Linked DNA regions of Homo sapiens: region 2 is linked to region 1. Evidence: promoter capture Hi-C in 16 types of primary human blood cells and fetal thymus (Javierre and others, 2016). All regions are on one chromosome and are shown on one strand. Each heading gives the region's core, a stretch centred on a gene start or on the middle of the fragment in contact. The rest is flanking DNA. Distances are from core to core; before and after follow the strand shown.

Region 1 (4,980 bases), core at 407-2,906:
CAGCAAGGCACCTTCAGGTCCCGGCTTACCCTGGGGGTGGACGGCTGAGGCTGAGGGAGGCCAGGCAGGGCTGCTGCCGTAACCATCGTGACCTGAGCATCTGTTTTATGGTGGCACCACACTGCAGCCGAGGTGGGCAGCATCTCATTTAATCCCATGTGGGGTGGATCTGAGAGAGGGGACGTCATTTGCCGGAAGTCACCGGTGAAGACCAGACAGGCAGGGCAGGGAAGGCTGAGTTGAACCCTCCTAAGCCCCCATCCCACCGCCCGGCTGCCCCCTTCCTGCCACCCCACATCATCGAGATGGGGACAGGAGCTGGGTCTACAGGGGAAGCCCGTGGGTTCTTCCCACTCAGATCCTGTCTCCGACGATGGCTGCTGCTTCGGCTCAGAGAACAGCCAGGGTAAGGCCATGCCGCGGCAGCCCACCCCACACCAGCCTCCTGATAAAGCCAGCACCACCCTCCCTGAACCTGTTTCCAGCCTGCGTCCTCCACCTGACCACTCACACCTCACACCTTCTGCATCCTCTCCAGGCCACTTCCAGGGAGCCCTCCTGGGTTGCTCTGGTTCTCACAGCTCTGTTGTCCCTGAAGGCTCCCCCCAGCCAAGCCCCAGATCGTCCCTCTGCAAATACCACTGCACAGCAGACGCCCGCTCCCCACCCCCGCCGGAGCAAGGGTGTCTGCAGCCTCGCTGCGTCCATGGTTTAGCCAGGGACCGCTTGCTAAAATGCAGCTTCTGGGGCACATCGCCTCAGAAGTTCTGACTCCTCAGAACTGGGGGGGCCGGGACACCGGCACCGTTAGCGCCCCAAGCACACGTTGAGAAACCCAGTTACATGGTGGTCTCCAGCGTAAGGACCCGGGGCTTTTCTTGTGCCCGGACCAAGGCACGAGGTGCTGCTCCCCTAAACTTGTTGAATGGGACTCAGGGCCTCCCCTGGCCAGGCCCCAGAGGCCCGGGAGGTGGCGGCACCCACTCAGGGTGCCCAGGCCCACCATTTCTGGTGCTATTCAGACGCCCCCAGAGCAGGGGGACTCAGCCCTATGCCCCCAGGTCCCTCCCCGCCAGGCCGGGCCGTCAGCTCCAGCGATGGAGCAGGCTCCGGTGTGGACCCCAGATACCCTTTGCGTCTTCCAGCTCCGCACCCCCAGGCTGGACCAGACCCGGCTCGGGGGAGACAGGGCAGGAAGGCGCGGGCTGCAGGCTCTATTCGGACGTTCCCCACACCCCAGACCCAACCAGTGCCCCCTTCATCTCCTCCTGGAGAGGAGCGCATCCTCCCAGCGTCCCCAGTGCCCCGGGGAGATGCCCACCCGATTCCCCGCTCCTTGGCGCCCCAGAGGAGGGGCGGGGGGCCCCAGGGTGGGGAGTTCGCCCCCAAAGTTTCCAGGGGGAGCGTCGGGGGCCTGGCAAGGAGCGATGAGCCCGGGAGGGGTGCGCGGGGCAATTTCCCCCGGCTGAGGATGGGGTCGCGGGTTGGGGGCTTTGGGCGGCAGGGTCGCAGGGTGCAGGTGAGGGGTCCCCAGGTCTGCGGGCGCGCCCCACGCCGGGCCCCGGCACGGCCACTCACCTGGGCGGCTCCGCCGCGGACACGGCGCGGGCTGCGGCGCGGGGGCCGCCCGGAGCCGACACGAGCAGCCGCCGCCGCCGCCGCCGCCGCCGCCGCCGCCTCCCGGGCTCCGCCGTGCGCGCCGCCGCCGCGCGCAACCGCCCGCCGGTCTCCTCGGCGCGCCTGGCGGGGGCGCGCGGGGGCTGCGCTGGGCCGCGTGCGCGGCGGCTGGGGCCGCAGGTGTGAGAGGCCACGTGGGCGCAGGTGCGGGGACACTGGGAGCGCGGGTGCAGAACCCCTCCGTGCGCATCCCGGGCGCTTCGTGTCCGAGGACCTCCTGTCCCCACGGCCTGGGTGAGCCTGCGGAGACGGCCGTGCCGTGCAATAAACGCAGGGGCACCCCAAGTGCAGCAGGTTGTTCCGTGTGGAACCTTCTGGAAGCTACCATCGCCTCCTCTGCCCCCCGTCCCCCACCCCTAGTCCAGGCCGCCACCATCTGCACCTGGACATCTGCCACAGCCCAGCCCAGGCCCATTCCTTATGTGGCCCTCAGAGGAAGCCCCTCAGAGGAAGCTTAGCCACTGGGCTCCAGAACCTGCCGTGATTCCCTATTGCCGTGAGGGTCCCGTCTGCACCCCACCTACCCTGGAATTTCTCTTTCTTTCGTTCTTTCTTTCTTTCTTTCTTTCTTTTTTTTTTTGAGATGGAGTCTTGCTCTGTTGCCCAGGCTGGAGTACAGCGGTGCCATCTTGGCTCACTGCAACCTCCGCCTCCTGGGTTCAAGCGATTCTCCTGCCTCAGCCTCCCAAGTAGCTGGGATTACAGGCACCCGCCACCACGCCCGGCTAATTTTTGTATTTTTATTAGAGACGGATTTTCAGCATGTTGGCCAGGCTGGTCTCAAACCCCTGACCTCGGGTGATCCACCCACCTCGGCCTCCCAAAGTGCTGGGATGACAGGTGTGAGCCACCGCCCGGCTGCCTGCACTGTTTGGTCTGCCGCACCACCTCCTTCCCCCTGGCCTGTCCTCACTCACTCTTTCCCGGGCTCCACCCCCTCAGCCTTCCTCAAACAGGCCAAGTCCCTCCAGTCCCAGGCCTTTGATCTTCGCTGTGCCCAGCTTGGACAGCCTTTCTCTCTGTCCCTCCATCGAGCAGCTTGGAGCCTCTCAGTTTGTCTAATGGGCTTGTTCCCCAATGTGCCTTCCGCCTAGCACACAGCAGCGCACACACCAAGTGCACTGCGAGTGCTCATGGAAAGTTTTTTACCTTTTTTTTTGTCTTTTTTTTTTTTTTTTTTTTTTGAAATGGAGTTTTGCTCTCGTCACCCATTCTGGAGTGCAGTGGTGCAATCTTGGCTCACTGCAACTTCCACCTCCCGGGTTCAGGCGATTCTCCTGTCTCAGTCTCCCAAGTAGCTGGGATTACAGGCGCCCATGACCATGCCTGGCTAATTTTTGTATTTTTAGGGGAGATAGAGTTTCACCATGTTGGCCAGGCTGGTCTCGAACTCCTGACCTCAGGTGATCCACCCGCCTCGGCCTCCCAAAGTGCTGGGATGACAGACGTGAGCTACTATGCCCGGCCCCTCACTGCATCTTCTAAAAGCCACATTTAGCCTCCCTGTCTCACAGATGAGCAAACCAAGGCTGGGAGATGCCATTTGTCCCAAGTGAGGGGTGAGAAGGAGGCCTCGGGAACCTGTGTGTGTAACCTTGCCCTGTCTGCCCCCTTCACCCACTCTGCAGTCCTCCCCACCAGCTGTGTATTCCCAGTGGCTTTGGCGGTGGCCTGGCACTCACGCAGCCACCTGTGACTCAAGCAGGCTCTGTTCCCAGACTGTCGCGTTGGCTGGAGGCCCAGAAACCGCATCCCTGGGAGGCTGCAGGCCAGGCCCCCCACAGGATGCTGTGGGGGGCGGGTATGGTTCAATTCCTGGCCCCAGAGAGGTCCAGAAGGACTTCATGACACCCCATGCTCTCCCCACCAAATGGCCCTGGGCTGCTGTGCTGTGTGACCCCAGTAGGGGAGGTCTCCTTCTCTCTCTGAACGTGTTTCTTTCTCTGTAAAGTGATGCTCCTGATAGCTGGCTCTCAGGGCTCTTGGAGGAAGGTGTTCATTGAGCACCTACTGTATACCAGGCCAAGGGCTGGAGGGAGGAGGAGGAGACGCTTCCAGCCTCAAGGGGGATTTCTTCGGACAGAGGGAGCAGATGCCTGAAATATGAAATCGTCACAAAGCGGCGTGGAAGAGGCAGTAGTGACACCGGGTCCCGGACCGAAGCCAGGGGCCAGGGAGGCTTCCCGGAGGAGGAGACACTTGCTATGAGTCCTGGAGGGTGAGGGATGCCAGCTGGGGTCCAGTCGAGGCCCTGCCTGTGTAACCGTGGGGGATGTCCCTCTAGCCTCGGTCTCCACCTCTGCAAAATGGAGATCGGAACAGTTCCCATCTTCTCCCGGGGCTGCAGAGACTCTGCAGTGGTTCTGCCCGGTTTGTGGCCAGTGCTCCCGAGCCCTTGGGGGTGGAGATTGGGCCAGGCTCCTACTGCAGGGCCTGAGCACGGGCTGCTCCCTCTGCCTAGAACGCCCTTCCCCCAGACCTCTGCCCGCCCCTTTCCCCCTCTTCACTCGCGTCTCCACCCCGACCTTCCATCTCTCCCTGCGTGGCACATGCCTGCTAAGATGTCCAGTAATTTGCTGATGGGTCCAGTGCAAGCTCTACCCTCTCTTCTTTTTTTTTTTTTTTTTTGAGATGGAGTCTCACCCTGTCGGTTGCCCAGGCTGGAGTGCAGTGGCGCGATCTCGGCTCACTGCAAGCCCCACCGCCCGGGTTCACGCCATTCTCCTGACTCAGCCTCCCGAGTAGCTGGGACCACAGGCACCCGCCACCAGGCCCGGCTAATTTTTTTTTGTATTTTTAGTAGAGACAGGGTTTCACCATGTTAGCCAGGATGGTGTCAATCTCCTGACCTCATGATCGGCCCGCCTCAGCCTCCCAAAGTGCTGGGATTACAGGCGTGAGCCACCGAGCCCGGCCCCAGCCTTTTTTAAGACAGGGTTTCGCTCTGTCACCCAGGCTGGAGTGCAGTGGCGCAGTCATAGCTCACTGCAGCCTTGAACCCCCTGGGCTCAAGTGATCCTCCTACCCCAGCCTCCCGAGAAGCTGGGACTGCAAGTGAGTGGCAACACACCTGGCTAATTTTTTTATTTTTTGTAGAGATGGGGTCTCACTAAGTTGCCCAGGCTGGTCTTGAACTCCTGGCCTAATGTGATCTTCTCTTCTTGGCCTCCCCAAGTGCTAGTATTACGGGTGTGAGCCACTGTGCCCAGCCCAGTCTTGTAATATTATGTGTCCATTTACTCCTCCCCAAAATGATGAGGGATTAGTTTTTATTATTATTTTTTAAGAGACAGGGTCTCATTC
Region 2 (5,450 bases), core at 258-2,757, 350 kb before region 1:
CGCAGCCCACCCAGGTTTTCCACGGCCGTTCATGGTTACGCTTCTGGAAGGACCCGTGTCCTCTCAGATGTAGCAGGATTCCGATGGGAGCCACCCCGGGTCCCACTCGCCCCCGGGACCTGCCGTGGGAGCTTTCTTTCCTGGTGGGGTGCCTGACTCTGCCTGCACGTTCCCCCCGCTGTCTGTGGCACCACTTGGGACCGGGGACCCCTGCCCCCCTGGCAAGACCAGGTCAGCTCTGCCCCCGGGCCACGGAGCAGGAAGCAGAGCTGAGGCTGCTGAGGTGGCGCAGGGTTGCTGTGGGGGCCTGTGCGCCATGGGGGCCTGGGTGGGGGTGTTCTCACTTCCCCCGGAGTCTGGAAGGCCGTCTTTGTGATGGATTTGATGCAGATGTGTCCACTTTGCTTTTGTTGATGGCGTCTGAGGCTCTGGAGTCCATGGCAGCCTTGCCTCCGTTTGCATAATCTGAATTTTGGGAAAATTGCCCCTATGTGGACTAGTTGCAGGGACAGTGCCCTCCGCCAAGGCTGCCGGTGGTGTTTGCCTTATGTGTCCGGTGCTGGGTGAGTGCCAGCTTTTCCCTGGTCAGCTCTGCCCGTGGCCCTCACCTGTGGTCTGTGCCATCACCAGGGCGAGGCTGACCTGTGGGACGGGGTCCCTGCACAGCCTCGCCGTCCCCCACATCCCCCCAACAGGGTCTGGTCCCAGCTGCCATTGTGCAGCCTTGCCCCCTCCCCCCGCATCAGGGTCCGGTCCTGGCCGCTGTACCGCGATCACCTGTGGCCCTCCTGTGTTCTTTACCTGGACTCTTGCCTTTGCTGATGGCGACCTGTGACGGCTCAGCTGCGTTCTCAGAGGCCGGCTGTCCTCGTGGGCGTCTCCGGTGCAGTCGGCGCGGTGAGGTTGGCTTCTGCCATGGACGGGGCCTTCTCGTGGTGATGACAGTCGCCCTTGGTCTGGTGTCTGCAGTGCTCCGAGGACCGGCCCTGCCCATCCCTGGCGTTCACTCCTCAGCTTCCTCCCATGGGGTGGGCGGCTTCCCTCCTCTCCCTGATTTGTGGGGTGTTTCTCTTTTGCACCTGATGCGTTAAACCCATTACCGGCCTAGGTCAGCCTGAGGTTGGTTTGTCCTGGCCGCGGCAGCTCCTGCGCCCCTCCATTGTGGAGGGCGCCCTTCCGTCTGCCCTGCGTCACTGGGCTGGGCCTGGCCCCGCTCTGCTGTGGCCCTGGCACTGGAAGTATGTGCTGCCCTGGTGTTCGGGGGCTCTTGGGTCCTGGGGCGCTGCAACCCCTCATTTTCTTTCCTTGGGGTGCAGATGAATTGGGGTGGCAGGGAACCGAGCCCACAGTGGCCAGCCCCTGCGGCCCCAGGTCAGAGGGCAGGGCCGGCCTGGACAGAGCTGCCCAGAACGGTCTGCGGCCGGGTCCACATGAGTCTAGGTGCCTCTGAGGGCACTGGGACGGCGGTGGCCTGCACCTGCCCAGCCCAGTGAGGTCCCTGGCCTCCCTTCAGCTTTGCCCTGGGCTCTGGGCTGAGGGCTGTGTGGTGATGTCAGCCCAGGGACTGTGACATCACTCAGTGGAGACAGTCAGAGAAGGGGGCTCCCGGGGCCCTCCCCAGGGAACTGGCCCTGGGCCCAGACCAGATGGAGGACCCCGAAAAGAACAGGGCAGGTAGCAGCCTGAGGCTAGGGCTGGGGAAGGGGATGGGAGCTGACGGGGAGAGAGCAGCCCCTTGTGGGATGGCTGCAATCCCCTCGTTGGCGCCCGGGAGCCATCCTTGGCGTGTGACCCGGAGCCGGCACTCGCCCCCTGGGACGGAATCGTGGCTGCGTGGGTTGGGTGGAGGCTGGGTGAGGATCAGCGTCCCTTCGTCCCTCCCTGGGGTTGTTGCTTTTCGCTGTGGCCCTCAGGCAACAGGGCAGGCCCCCAACCCCCAGGCCTGCGTGGGCACTGTGGGTGCCCAGCCTTTACGTCCTCGCTTCCTTCCAGGCCCCGGCCTTGTCTGGCTTCCCTTGGGCACCCCCTGGGGTTCGGAGAGCCCCAGAAGAGGCCGGGCTCTTCCTCCTTGGTGATGGACGGGTGCTGGGCCCTGACCGAGTGGTGACCGCCTCCAGGGAGTGATCTGCGCCCTCGGAAGCTGCTGAGTCTTGGAGTGGCGGCTCTTGTTTGTGGGGGCAGGGGGAGCTGGGCACCCGCCCTGTGCCCACGGAACACAGCCCAGGGTGGCGGCCCTGCCTGTCCTCTGACTGCCCTCCTGCTGCTGCTGCTGCTGCTGCGAGGGCCTCAGGCGCAGGCGGTGACTCTCGGGGCCACTCCTGAGGTGGGGGATGTGGGCTAGCGGCCACCGTGGGCGGCAGGTGTGCAAGCAGTGCTCCCGTTTTCCACTGGGCTGCCCTTCACCGGCTGTGGGTCAGCGCCCCCCACTGAGGCTCAGGCTGAGGCGAGGCTCCGCGGGGTGGGCGTGTGCCAGGGTGAGGCTCCGCGGGGTGGGCGTGTGCCTGGGCGAGGCTCCGCGAGTCGGGGGCAGCGCCCAGGTCAGGGGCTTCTCCGTCCATGTCAGGCTTAGGGTGGGTGTGGCTGGGCCCTCCCTCTGCTGTCCGCCCACGACCCCCTCAGAGGGGCTGTCGTGAGATGCTTGGAGGCGGGATCCAGCCCTGAGGGTGCAGGGAGTGCTCAGCGGACCCCCGTGCCACTGCTGTCACCGGAGGAGGCTGCTGCTCGGCTCCGGGCTCCATCTGCAAAGCCGGGTGTGCATCTGTGTGGCTCAGCTCTGCAGGGCACAGTGGGGTTTGCTCCCGGCCGGCCCTGAGGCCGGGCACAGGGAGGCCAGTGCTCATCCAGGGGGCCAGAGAGAAAGTAGCAACCCCAACCTGCCTGGGCCACAACAGCCAAGACCACTGTATCAGAACAGACGCCAGCGGGGCAGCCTGCTCGTTGGCCGGGCGGAGCAGGGTCGGCACACAGCCCGGGCTGGCCTTCACCCCAGCTCCCGACAGCGTTGGGTCCCTGAGTGCAGGGCCTGCCCCTTTCTCATCCTCCTGCCTCCAGGTCATGGGGCAGGGGTGCCGAGAGGCCCTGCGGGAGCCAGGACCTGAGAGGTGATGGTCACCACCCAGACGAGGGGCCGGGGGTCGCACAAGGAGGCTTCCAGGGGGATGCCAGGAGCAGTGGGGCCCTAGACCCAGCAGTGGGTAGACCCAGCAGGGCAGCGCTCACGTCACAGGTTCTGGGGGTTGGGGCTTGTCATCTGTGCAGGTGCAGCTGGGATGGGGATTTGGTGCTTTTTGTTCTGCAAAAGCCAGAACGCATGTAGCTGAGCCAAGATCAGACGGCATGGTGCCTCATGCCTGTGGTCCCAGCTACCTGGGAGGATGAGGCGGGAAAATTGCTTGAACTCGGGAGGCGGAGGTTGTAATGAGCCGAGATCCTGCCACTGCACTCCAGCCTGGGTGATGGAGCTAGATCCTGTCTCAAAAAACAAAAGACCACGCATCCTAGCCGGCAAGGCCACTCTGTACTCAGACCCGGCAGCTGTGGCTGTGGCACAGGCGCTTACCCTGCGGCATTGGCCCTTTCAGTGGTTGGTGTTGACCCTCCACAGAGGGGCTGGGTGGGGTGTGTCCAGTCCCATCTGGGTAGACTGAGTGTTGGGGATGGGAGAGTGTTTAAGGAGGTGGCGGTTACAGACTCCAGCATCGGGACACGGGGCCGTGGGTCATACCCACATCCGTGGGGGCTGTGAGACAGCCGTCCAGAAGCTTCTGTCTCCGGGCCAGGAGGACACCCCAGAGAGCCCCAGGAGGCTCGTTCCGGAATTTAGGGCTCAGCCTCGATGAACCTGGCCAGGCGGCGGTTGATGGGTTAATTCAGTTAATCACACATCACTCAGGGTTTCTCAGCAGAAGGAACTGACCAAGCCAATGGCTCACCTGGAAGAGAGAAGGAGGGAGGAGGAGGGGATTCTGCAGAGGGAAGGCTGGTGGTGGCGCCCCCCTTCGACGGTCGTGCCCTGATGCTGCGTGGCTTAAACGGTGCCACCCGGAGATTGGTGGGCGGGATTGGGCCTCTGGGGTCCCCGGCTGTGGAGAGGGCAAGGCAGGGGCGGCTAGAAAGAAAAGCAACCTGGACGCAGGCCCCACCTCCCTCCAGGCAGCCCCACAGGCCCGAGGGCCACCGTGTCAGGAGGGATAGCCTACACGGAGAGCAGGCCAGTGGCCCTGTGCCCAGGAGGGTGCCTTGCCCAGCCTGGAGGCCCGCAAGGATGAGAAGCAGTGTGTGCCCGGGAGGTCACGTGGGCACCACAGACGAAAGTGGAGCCGGGGGAGAGATGTCCCGGGATGCACCAGGCGCTCGTGCAAACCAAGTGCTGAGCAGAGAGCAGCCTGGGAGAGAAGGGGGCTGCCCCGAGCGGCTTGGGTGGCCGGGCCTGTGGGAGACCTTGGGTTTGCTGTTAGGAGGGACAGTGAGCGCAGGCACCTCTCTCTCCACTTCATGTTTGTCCTCACTGAGGGAGCCGAGCAGATGCCTTTGCCCCTGCAGGTCCCCCATGTCCCCTCGCCCGGGGCGCGCTCCACAGGCTAGGCCACTTTCACAGCTCACCACACAGGCAGAGACTGGAGGGTGCGCAGGACCCCGGGTGACTGCAGACGTGGGCACAGAGGGGCCTCTGAGGGCGTCTGGCGGCATTTGAGCAGCTGCCAGATCTCCCCTGGAAACACTGGGGTGTGTGCTCGGTGGGTGCCGTGTGTGGGGGGTATGTGCTCGGCGGGCGCCGTGTTTGTGGGGTGGGAGCTAGGCGGGCGCCGTTTATGTGGGGTGGGCGCTCGGCGGGCACTGTGTGTGTGGCACGGCCACTGCTTAGGGCCCCCTGGAGCTGCGGGGCACACGGCAGAGCCAGCCTCATGTCACCACGTGCTTCCCCCGTGTGCAGGGAGGGGTTGGAGGTGTGCGCTTGTCTTGTCCGGAAGCCGGGTGTTGGGACGCGTCCTGACGACGGCACTGCCCACATCCTAATGGGACACCTGAGGGACATCGGTGGCTGAGTAAGGGGCCCCTCCCGAGCAGGTCTGGAGGCGTTGGAAGCACAGCGCAGCCTCATGGGGCACCTGCCTGCTCTGCCTGGAATTGAGGGGCGATTGGGACTCCCACTGCCCCCACCAAAGCCTGTGCCCCTGATGTCTGTCCAGAGCACGGCTTCCTTCTCGGTGGTTCCCAGAGGCCGCTGGGCCTCGCTTCGTCCTTTTTGGGCAGCGAGTGTGTATGTTAGGGGAACAGGAGCCCGGCAGGGCCGTCTTGCAGGGCTCAGCAGTGGGGGCCGTGGGGTTGGTGCACCAGGGCAGGAGAGCTGCCCGGCTCCTGCTAGGTGTCTAGAGGGCCTCAGCTCTCCCAGGCACTGTCCCCTGTCCCCCCATCTCCCCTGTCCCCCCCATCTCCCCATCCCCCCGTCC

What was found. Contacts are between HindIII fragments. The CHiCAGO score rates a contact against its expected background, and 5 or more counts as called.
Region 2: the fragment with the promoter of CSNK1G2-AS1 here is called in contact with the fragment with the promoter of LINGO3 in region 1 in 1 of 17 cell types (neutrophils); the score reaches 5.1 in neutrophils.

The regions. Positions count from the first base shown.
Region 1 is chr19:2,306,498-2,311,477 of GRCh38, forward strand. LINGO3 (leucine rich repeat and Ig domain containing 3) reads right to left here and starts at 1,657. Exons shown (of 2, transcript NM_001101391.3): 1 at 1,579-1,657. The HindIII fragment of the contact is 8,822 bases long and covers 1-2,128 here.
Region 2 is chr19:1,953,042-1,958,491 of GRCh38, forward strand. It overlaps CSNK1G2-AS1 (CSNK1G2 antisense RNA 1), which reads right to left and starts at 1,508. Exons shown (of 3, transcript NR_033400.1): 1 at 802-1,508; 2 at 345-465. The region is part of intron 1 of CSNK1G2 (casein kinase 1 gamma 2); the gene reads left to right. RefSeq lists an enhancer at 1,889-2,840. The HindIII fragment of the contact is 8,344 bases long and covers 1-3,759 here.